3 separate regions of the Homo sapiens genome follow, and all the other regions are linked to region 3. The links are contacts of gene promoters, found by promoter capture Hi-C in blood cells and fetal thymus (Javierre and others, 2016). All regions are on one chromosome and are shown on one strand. The core of a region is centred on a gene start or on the middle of the fragment in contact, and the rest is flanking DNA. Distances in the headings are between cores, read along the strand shown.

Region 1 (2,700 bases), core at 111-2,610, 200 kb before region 3:
GGAGGGATCAATGCACTTAAGACAGAAGGAACAGTATGAGTGAAGGTCCTGAGGCAGGAAAGAGCTTTGTGTGATGAACTGAAAGGAGACCAGTGTGGCTTGGGCATCAGGTGTAAAAGGCAAGAGTGGCCCAAGATGAAGCTATACAAGGATTAGATTATGCTGATCTTTGTAGACTCTGGGTAAGAATTATGAGTTCTATTTTAAGCGCATTAGGTAGACTTTGAAAAGTCTTGTGAAAAGCATGTGATTATCTGATTGTTATTTTAGAAAGATTTCCTCCAGCTTCTCTGTGGAAAATGAATCGGAGGAGCAAAGCAAAATACAGGAAGCCCAGTGCAGAGGCTATCACAATGGTCCAGGAGAGAGATGGTAGTGGCGTGAACCAAGATGGTAGAAATAGCTATAAGAAAATGAGCATATATCATGCTTATTTCGGAAGCAAAAATGAAGGCATATATTTGGGGTTGAAAGACGGTGATGAAGGATGACTTACAATTTCTAGCCATTTATTGAGTGGAGGAAAGGCCAAAGAGGGGTGGTTTGGTGGTGAAATCAATAGCTTCATTTTGAAAACGTTAAGTTTGAGATTCTGGGAGATATGCAAGAATACATATCAAGTAGGTAGTTAATTTATAAATCTGAAGTTTAGAGAGGAACTCAAGGTAGTGATTACAAATTATAGCTCCATCAGGTATTATATAGATGGTATGTCAGTGGGAGATCAATTAAGATTTTTAAAATGAGGCACCCAAATATAGTGGATCAAACAAGGCACAAGTTTCTTTATCATTCATGTCATAGTTCAGAGATAGGTGGGTGATCTAGTTAGACAGCTCCACTCCACAAGGTCATTCAGGGATTCACGGCACTTTTATTTGTCATCCCTTGAATATTATTTTTCTCTGTATGGTGGAAATTGGTTCATTAGCACCAAGACCACATCCTATCATTCAGAAATAGGGAAAAAGGTGCACCTTCTTTTTAAGGAAACGACCCAGGGGTAACACATGTTATTTAGCTGCAAGAGAGGCTGTAACATAGAGTCTATAAACTGGATGGCCATATGCTACCTGATGAAATGTCAATTCCATTACTAAAAAGAAGGGGAGAATGGATACCAGAAGACAAGACATACTGTCTGCCACAGACAGTAAAAAGGCAAAGCCTGCATGGGCAGGGTTTCTCAATGTACCAGCAGCACTTTGGAACAGATAATTCTTAGTTGTGGGAGGCTGTGCTGTGCATTTTAGGATTGTATACTCACCATCAATGTTTAGTAGTATTTCCAGCCTCTGTCCTTTAGATGCCAGTGACATACTCCCAGTTGTCACAGTAAAACATGTCTCTAGTCATTGGCAAATGTCCTCTAGGGGGCAAAATCACACCCTGTTGAGAACGACTGGGTTATATCAGGAGAACGAGTATAGAAAAAGAAGGAGTGCTGCCACTGGGGTTTGAGAAGTGCCAACATTTAAAGATTGGGTAGAAGAGGAGTAAAGGAGACAGGCAAGGAGTAGGCAATGGTATATAATGAAAACCAAGACTGAAGAGTGTCACAAAAGCCAATATAGGAGGGAGTTCCAAAATGGTAGGAGTGATTGACTATGTGGAATGCTACTATGGAATCAACTGAAACGAGGGCAGAAATGTGCTCATAGGATTTGGTAACATGGAGATTACAGGTGACACAGACAAGAGTAATTGCTGTGTAGTAGTGGAGGTGAAACTCAGCTTGTAGTGAGTAAGAGTAAGTGGAAAATGAATAAGTGGACATAATGTTTGTAGACAACCCTAAACAATGAAAAAGTACAGAGAAATGGAGAAGCATCTGGAGGGTTATGAGAGTTCAAAAGGGGTGTGGTTTTGTTTTTAATGAGAGATACTAGGAGGTGTTTGTATGAGCCGAAGGAAATAATCCAGTACACAAGAGTGCCACCATCCAAACATGTAAAGTGCTTGGAACTGCATTTAACAAGTAAACTGTATATTAAATATTAATATTACTCTATGAATTAGAGATTAAGTGGGCAATTGTGCTTTTAGACCCTGCTACAGATAGAACATTTTTGTCCCCCTCCAAATTCCTATGTTGAAATCTTAACCCCCAAGGTTAAGATTTTTTTCTTTTCAGAATTCCTTCAATTTTGATTGTGGGGATAAAATCAGACAGCCACTGAAGATAGAATACAGTTACTGGGAGTAATCACAATGCTGTTCTCTTTTATAAAGTGGATATGATGTGTTATTTATTCAATTAATGCACGTCGCCAAAAATTGTCCTTATTCCTTGATTGTCTCTTTTTTTTACCAGTCTCTTGTTGAAGTGGCCTCATTGTCTGGGAAAATACTTGAGGTTTGTTGTCTCACAGCCATGGAGATCAAGGATGCGGACACACAATGAGTGAGGTTAAGAGCGGAAATTTAATTGGGAAAAGAAAAAGAATAGCTCTCTGCTACACAGAGTAGTCCTGAAAAAATAGGTTGCTGGTCCACAGCAAAATGCAGGGGTTTTTATAGATGAGCTAGTGGGGAGGTGGTGTCTGATTTACATAGGGTGCAAAAATCTGGTTAGGACCAGGTGTGCCATTTGCCTATGGCACAAATCTCTGGCCGCCCCCATGCCAATCTTCTATTATGCAAGTGGGTTCCCTGCCTGAGCTGTGCCATGTTGCCCATTTTTTTCTTACTGTACATGTG
Region 2 (2,700 bases), core at 32-2,531, 220 kb before region 3:
TCTCAATAAGTTAGCCTATGCAAATACAGTTCAGCTGTAGCAGATGAATCTTCATTGCTCATTTAGGTAAGTGCATCCTCAGCCATCTTGCTGATAAACTGAGACTGTTTCCATCATCGTTCATAGAAGATGCAAATACATCCCTTTGGGGATGATGTGTTTAACTAATATTTCACCATCAAACTGAAAGCTGAGTTCTCCTCCTAAGCCCTAGCGAGGAAAGAGAAATAAAAGAGAAAGTTTGATCTGAAAACAACAAAGCTTTAAAAATCCCCAGAAGGATCTCTAAACTCCATGGGGATTTGGCAAAAGGTCATTTGGAATGGATTGTATGTAGCCAGGATAGGAACCCAATTTGGCTTCCAGAGATTGACTGAGGTGGTAAAGGTCGAGGGTAGGAGAGAGGAGGATTACAAATCAATCCAGCCCAGGGATGTGAAAACAGTTGGTGCTGCTCTAGGAACTCAGAATGATGTGGACTTCACCTTCCTCTCTGCCATTTACACACTACGCCCTATGGTCCTCCTTTGGCAATTGAAATATTGGTGGAGGCAGAAGGTTTCCCTTTTAGCAACTGGGATGGGAATCTAAGAGATTGTAGAGCTAATTAATACAGACTGCCCCAGACGCAGTTAAAAATGCAGGAGAGGCTGGGCGCGGTGGCTCACGCTTGTAATCCCAGCACTTTGGGAGGCCAAGGCAGGCGGATCAAAAGGTCAGGAGTTTGAGAACAGCCTGGCCAGCAGAGTGAAACCCCATCTCTACTAAAAATACAAAAATTAGCTAGGCATGGTGGCGGGCGCCTGTAATCCCAGCTACTCAGGAGGCTGAGGCAGGAGAATCACTTGAACCCAGGAGGCAGAGGGTGTAGTGAGCCGAGATCGTGCCACTGTACTCCAGCCTGGGTGACAGAGCTAGACTCCGCCTCAAAAAAAAATGCAGGAAAGCAGAAGGAATTGCTTGGATGTAGAAATTCTTATTTGGGAATTGTCTGCGGGGAATGAGGAAGAAATAAGTGACAGGTTGTTTTTTTGACCCTCTTCCCTTAGGCAAGTTCAACTATTAGATTCAGGCAGCCAGGCACAGGGAAATAAATAAAATTTCCTATTTAAGCCTACCTAATAATAATGATTTAATTTCCCTTTTCTTCCCCACAATCATGACAAAAGTTGTAGATTTTGCGGACTTTCAGATTCCATTTCTATCTCCTTCCAAGCCATCCTTCTGAAGCAAGATATCTTCTTAATCACTCCTATCATTATCAACTTTCAGTGGCTCTCCATGGTTATTAAAGGCCAAACATCTCAAGCATGCAAACATCTCCACAACCCCAACGCTGCCTGCCTTTCCCTTTTCTTCCGCTGACCTCCCCACATGACCAAACTTCCCTCAATAATGTGGCAGTTACTTGTAAGTTCATGCCCTTGCCCTCCTTTTGGCTTGGTGAACCCTCATGGATTCTTCAAAACTGGCTCCAATTGTCACCTTCTTTTGAAGTTTTTGTATCTTCCCATGCCAGAGGCTTTTGATAACCTCCTTATATTGTCTTGGCCTGGTGTATATACCGGCTTCCAGTTTTGTTTTCATTTCTCTTTCCCTAACTACATTGTGACCATTTGTTATTCCTACTGTGGCCCTACCCCCTAGTAGTGTCAGTCATAGGACTGATGAACAATAAATATTTGTGGAATCAATGAAGCTCTTGGTAGTTAACCTTTGGCCTTGATAAGGTGGACATGTTTTTATGTATTGGCTGACGTACCGAAAGAAATCAATGTCAAAGGGAAAAAGTCTTAAATTGTGTTTGTCCTTTGAAATCCAACTCTTTTTTACTTTGTATGGGCTACTTTTATTGTGACTAAACATCAGTACACAGTCACTGTTTTACATAAACATGGAGCTATAGTAGACATAATTGTTTAAGAAGCGGAATGTAACCATAATAAATGAGGAGGACACAATAGTACGGAATAGGCCCCAAGTAGGAGCTAAACAAACCAGACAATGGTAAGATAAAGTGAAAGATAAGGAGATAACACTCACAGGGATATTTGCCATCATGTAGAAGAGGTATTTCTCCATTGTGTAGGAATACATATGTCACCCAAGTGTCAGTTGTGTGGGTGACCCCAAGTACCCTCACTTTCTGGTCTGAGCCTGAATTTTAAAATTGAAATAAGATATTGCTATCGAAAAGTCTCACCTGTGTAATTTTGTAGAGTTTACATGTCTTTATGCCCCGTTATGCTTCCTAAATATTGCTCCTCATTTCTGCTGTTAACTTTCTTTCTCTCTTTTACTGAAGCTTTGCAGTAATGGAGGGATGATGGCATAGCATCATGTAGATAGCAACTTGAAACTGAACATTAGATAGCTTTGTGCTGAAATTCATCAGCCATTCTTCACCACAGGGAATATCTTGCTGGTTTGGCGGAGGGCTGACCTTCCTTCTTGTAGCTCATACCTTCTCCTTATCTCCATTCTCTTCCTATTGTCTTGCCTGAGTTATTCATTGAGATTCAAAGTTCTTCTCACTTAATTGTGCAGTGTTTAACTTCTCTTTTAATTTTCCATGTCCTTCCAGACTATGCCCCGGAAAGGTCACGTAGGTGAGGTCCAACACAATGGGTGTTACTTTTTCAGTGAGCAGCATCTCCATGGATCTGATGCTACTCTGCAAATGTGCAGATGAGACCACAG
Region 3 (2,700 bases), core at 122-2,621:
GATTCCTTGAAGATACTTGAAAATACTTCATAGCCAATAGTTTTTACACAATTGGTTTTTCAAGCAATGAATTTCCATTTAAATAAAATATGGATTTACAATACATAGAAAATTTACAAGGAGTTATAAAACAGTGGGAAAGTATGTCTAGCCTAAACTTTTGTGCATTTAGTCTAGGAAAATTTCACATCCCTCTTTCCACACCTATAAAGCCAAACAGAACCAGGACTGACTTGAGGAAAGCAATTATTTATCTCTGCTGTGTCTAACTAAGCAAGCTGCCAAATGTGATCATTTGCCTGATTGGAAAATCACATAAATTAAGACTTTGCCATCAACTTTCTTTCAAGTAAGGAAAGAAAAGCATTTCAATATAGTAATGCAAAACAAGTGGAAATTGTTATTGAACATTTACTTGGACGGGCACTGTGGAAAATTATTCCTTGTCCAACCACCTCCTCAGCTGTAACTGGTAGCACAATTCTTGACCCATTTTACAGATTAGGAAACATGAGTTTCCAGAGTTTATTGGCACTCACGTGGCTGTTACATCGTTTTGATGTTCAAACGACCTACTTTATTCAAAGTCAGGTAGTACAGTCTGCTGGTGGGAAATACAGTATTACTCAAGGGACTTCAAAGGAACAAGAAGATGTTTGAGTTGCACAGTGAGCTAAATTATGCAAGTTGCAGAAATCCTAGGTGGATAGTACGACACCTTTCAGATCAGTTTCTACCCTCAAGGGTGGCAACAACCTTGTAGATCCATTATGGATTAGGTTTCTAAACTGTTTTGGTGTTATGAACCCCTAGAGTCTTCTGGGGAATCCAATGGACCTCGTCTCAGAATAATGTTTTACAATGTATAGCAGAAAGAAGAGAAATTATATTGAAATACACTTCTGGCATTTGACCCCTTAGGATTTTTCCAGCATTTCTACTCTGCCCACCTCTCCTCTCATGTCTACCAAAGAGACTTTCTCTACTTTATTCAGAAAGGTAAATGAGAGACACTCAAACAGGTCTGTAGGTTATGGGAGTAGCAGGGAGTATGGGATAGGCTACTGAGGAGCTGTTTTTGAGGTGACATCACTGTCTCCCTTCCTTTTTCCCTTCCCTCTGGAAGCCTCCTTACTTCTCCAGCTCTTCCTTCCTTCCCCACATCAAGTCCAATTTTTCTCCTTTTACTTCTTGTCTATCCTCCTCACTCCTTGCTCAGCCCCGCCCGCTTTTCTAGGCCCGCCCCTCCAGGGCCCCACCCTCAGGCCGCTCCTCCAGTCTAGGCCCCGCCTTCTCCTCAGTTTCCTGCCAATGACGCTGGGGCAGCCGGGGCAGCCGGGGCAGCCCGGTCACCCCGCCCCCAGGCCCACACTAAGGGTGTCCGCGGCCTGCCCTCCAGGCGGAGGAGCCCGGACTGCGGAAGGATGGAGCTGGCCGCCGGAAGCTTCTCGGAGGAGCAGTTCTGGGAGGCCTGCGCCGAGCTCCAGCAGCCCGCTCTGGCCGGGGCCGACTGGCAGCTCCTAGTGGAGACCTCGGGCATCAGCATCTACCGGCTGCTGGACAAGGTAGCGGCCAACCCGCTGGAGGACCGCGGGGCCTAGAATGCGCCGGGGTCGACCTCCCCGCAGGGAGTGCGGGGCGGCAGTCGCGGAAGGGACAGGGGCGCGTCTTCTCCGGCTCAGGAAGGAGCTCCGCCCGGACCCTGTCTCAAGCTCTGGAGCTAGCGCAGGGGCGGTGCCTCCAAGTGACTGCCGTGCAGATCCAGGGGAGTTGGAAGGTCACAGGAGTTCAGCCTCAGGTCAGGCCCGACGGGGCATGTAGTTAGAAGTTAATGACAGTTGAAACGTGGGTCAGCTGGTTCCTAGGCCCGTGCACACGTCTGCAAGGGACGTTGATCCTCACTCTCCAATGCGTGTCAGTGGCATATGGGGGCTGGGGTGGGGGAGGGGCGGTATCTTAGGGCTTGGATATAGGAGGAAAAGAAACAGAACTTTTCAAGGACTGGATGTGCAGGGTGGTGTCAGGGGTTGCCGAGAAGGGCCCTACTGTTTTAGTGACTCGTTTCTTTTGGTTGTTGCCCCTTCCTTCCAAGTTGCTCTTAATAAGTTGAGTCCGAATCTTCAGGCAGGAGTAAAGATGTAGGAGGAATGGGATTGGTTGTTGAAGTCTTTGGAATCAGGTAGCCATCCAGGTGGAAGGCATTGCCCCTGAGGCCTGTCATCCAAGGCTTGTCATCAGTTGCTTTGTGTAATAGTCGCAGCATGGCAAGTAGGTTAAAAGTCGCCTGCAGGTAATGTGGGTGAAACTGAAGTTTCCTAATACAGGACCAGGATATTATAGTGTTAGAGTTAGGAGGATACCTCATGCTCACCTGGTTAAACCCCAGGTTTCATAGGTGAAAGCAACAGGCCTCAAGGGTGAAGTCACTCCTGAAATGGCCCAGATAAGTGAATAGCAGAGGTGGGATTGGAGGGTTCATGATCTTGTGAATGTCAAACATGTGGTTGCCTTTTTAGGCACTTGCATTTTTGTTTACATCAAATATAGTGTTTTTATATTTTAAAACAGAAAACAAACGTTTGCAATATTTAGAAGTTGCTCACCTGTTAAACAGGAATGAAAACTCTGCCTGTCTCATTGCAGGAATGAAAACTCTGCCTGTCTCATTGCAGGGTTGTTAGGGGGTTCAAATCCAATCTG

What was found. The method cuts DNA at HindIII sites, captures the fragments that hold promoters and counts their contacts. A CHiCAGO score of 5 or more calls a contact.
Region 1: a fragment that was not itself captured here is called in contact with the fragment with the promoter of PCTP in region 3 in 1 of 17 cell types (monocytes); the score reaches 5.4 in monocytes.
Region 2: a fragment that was not itself captured here is called in contact with the fragment with the promoter of PCTP in region 3 in 6 of 17 cell types (monocytes, M0 macrophages, neutrophils and 3 more); the score reaches 9.6 in monocytes.

The regions. Positions count from the first base shown.
Region 1 is chr17:55,547,971-55,550,670 of GRCh38, forward strand. No RefSeq gene overlaps it. Among named protein-coding and RNA genes, the nearest start is that of SMIM36, 38 kb to the left of the region's middle. The HindIII fragment of the contact is 2,872 bases long and covers 1-2,700 here.
Region 2 is chr17:55,529,855-55,532,554 of GRCh38, forward strand. It overlaps a transcript of SMIM36 not described here. Among named protein-coding and RNA genes, the nearest start is that of SMIM36, 20 kb to the left of the region's middle. The HindIII fragment of the contact is 2,044 bases long and covers 260-2,303 here.
Region 3 is chr17:55,749,680-55,752,379 of GRCh38, forward strand. PCTP (phosphatidylcholine transfer protein) reads left to right here and starts at 1,372. Exons shown (of 6, transcript NM_021213.4): 1 at 1,372-1,565. The coding sequence starts at 1,425. RefSeq lists a silencer at 1,170-1,509. The HindIII fragment of the contact is 1,470 bases long and covers 1-1,442 here.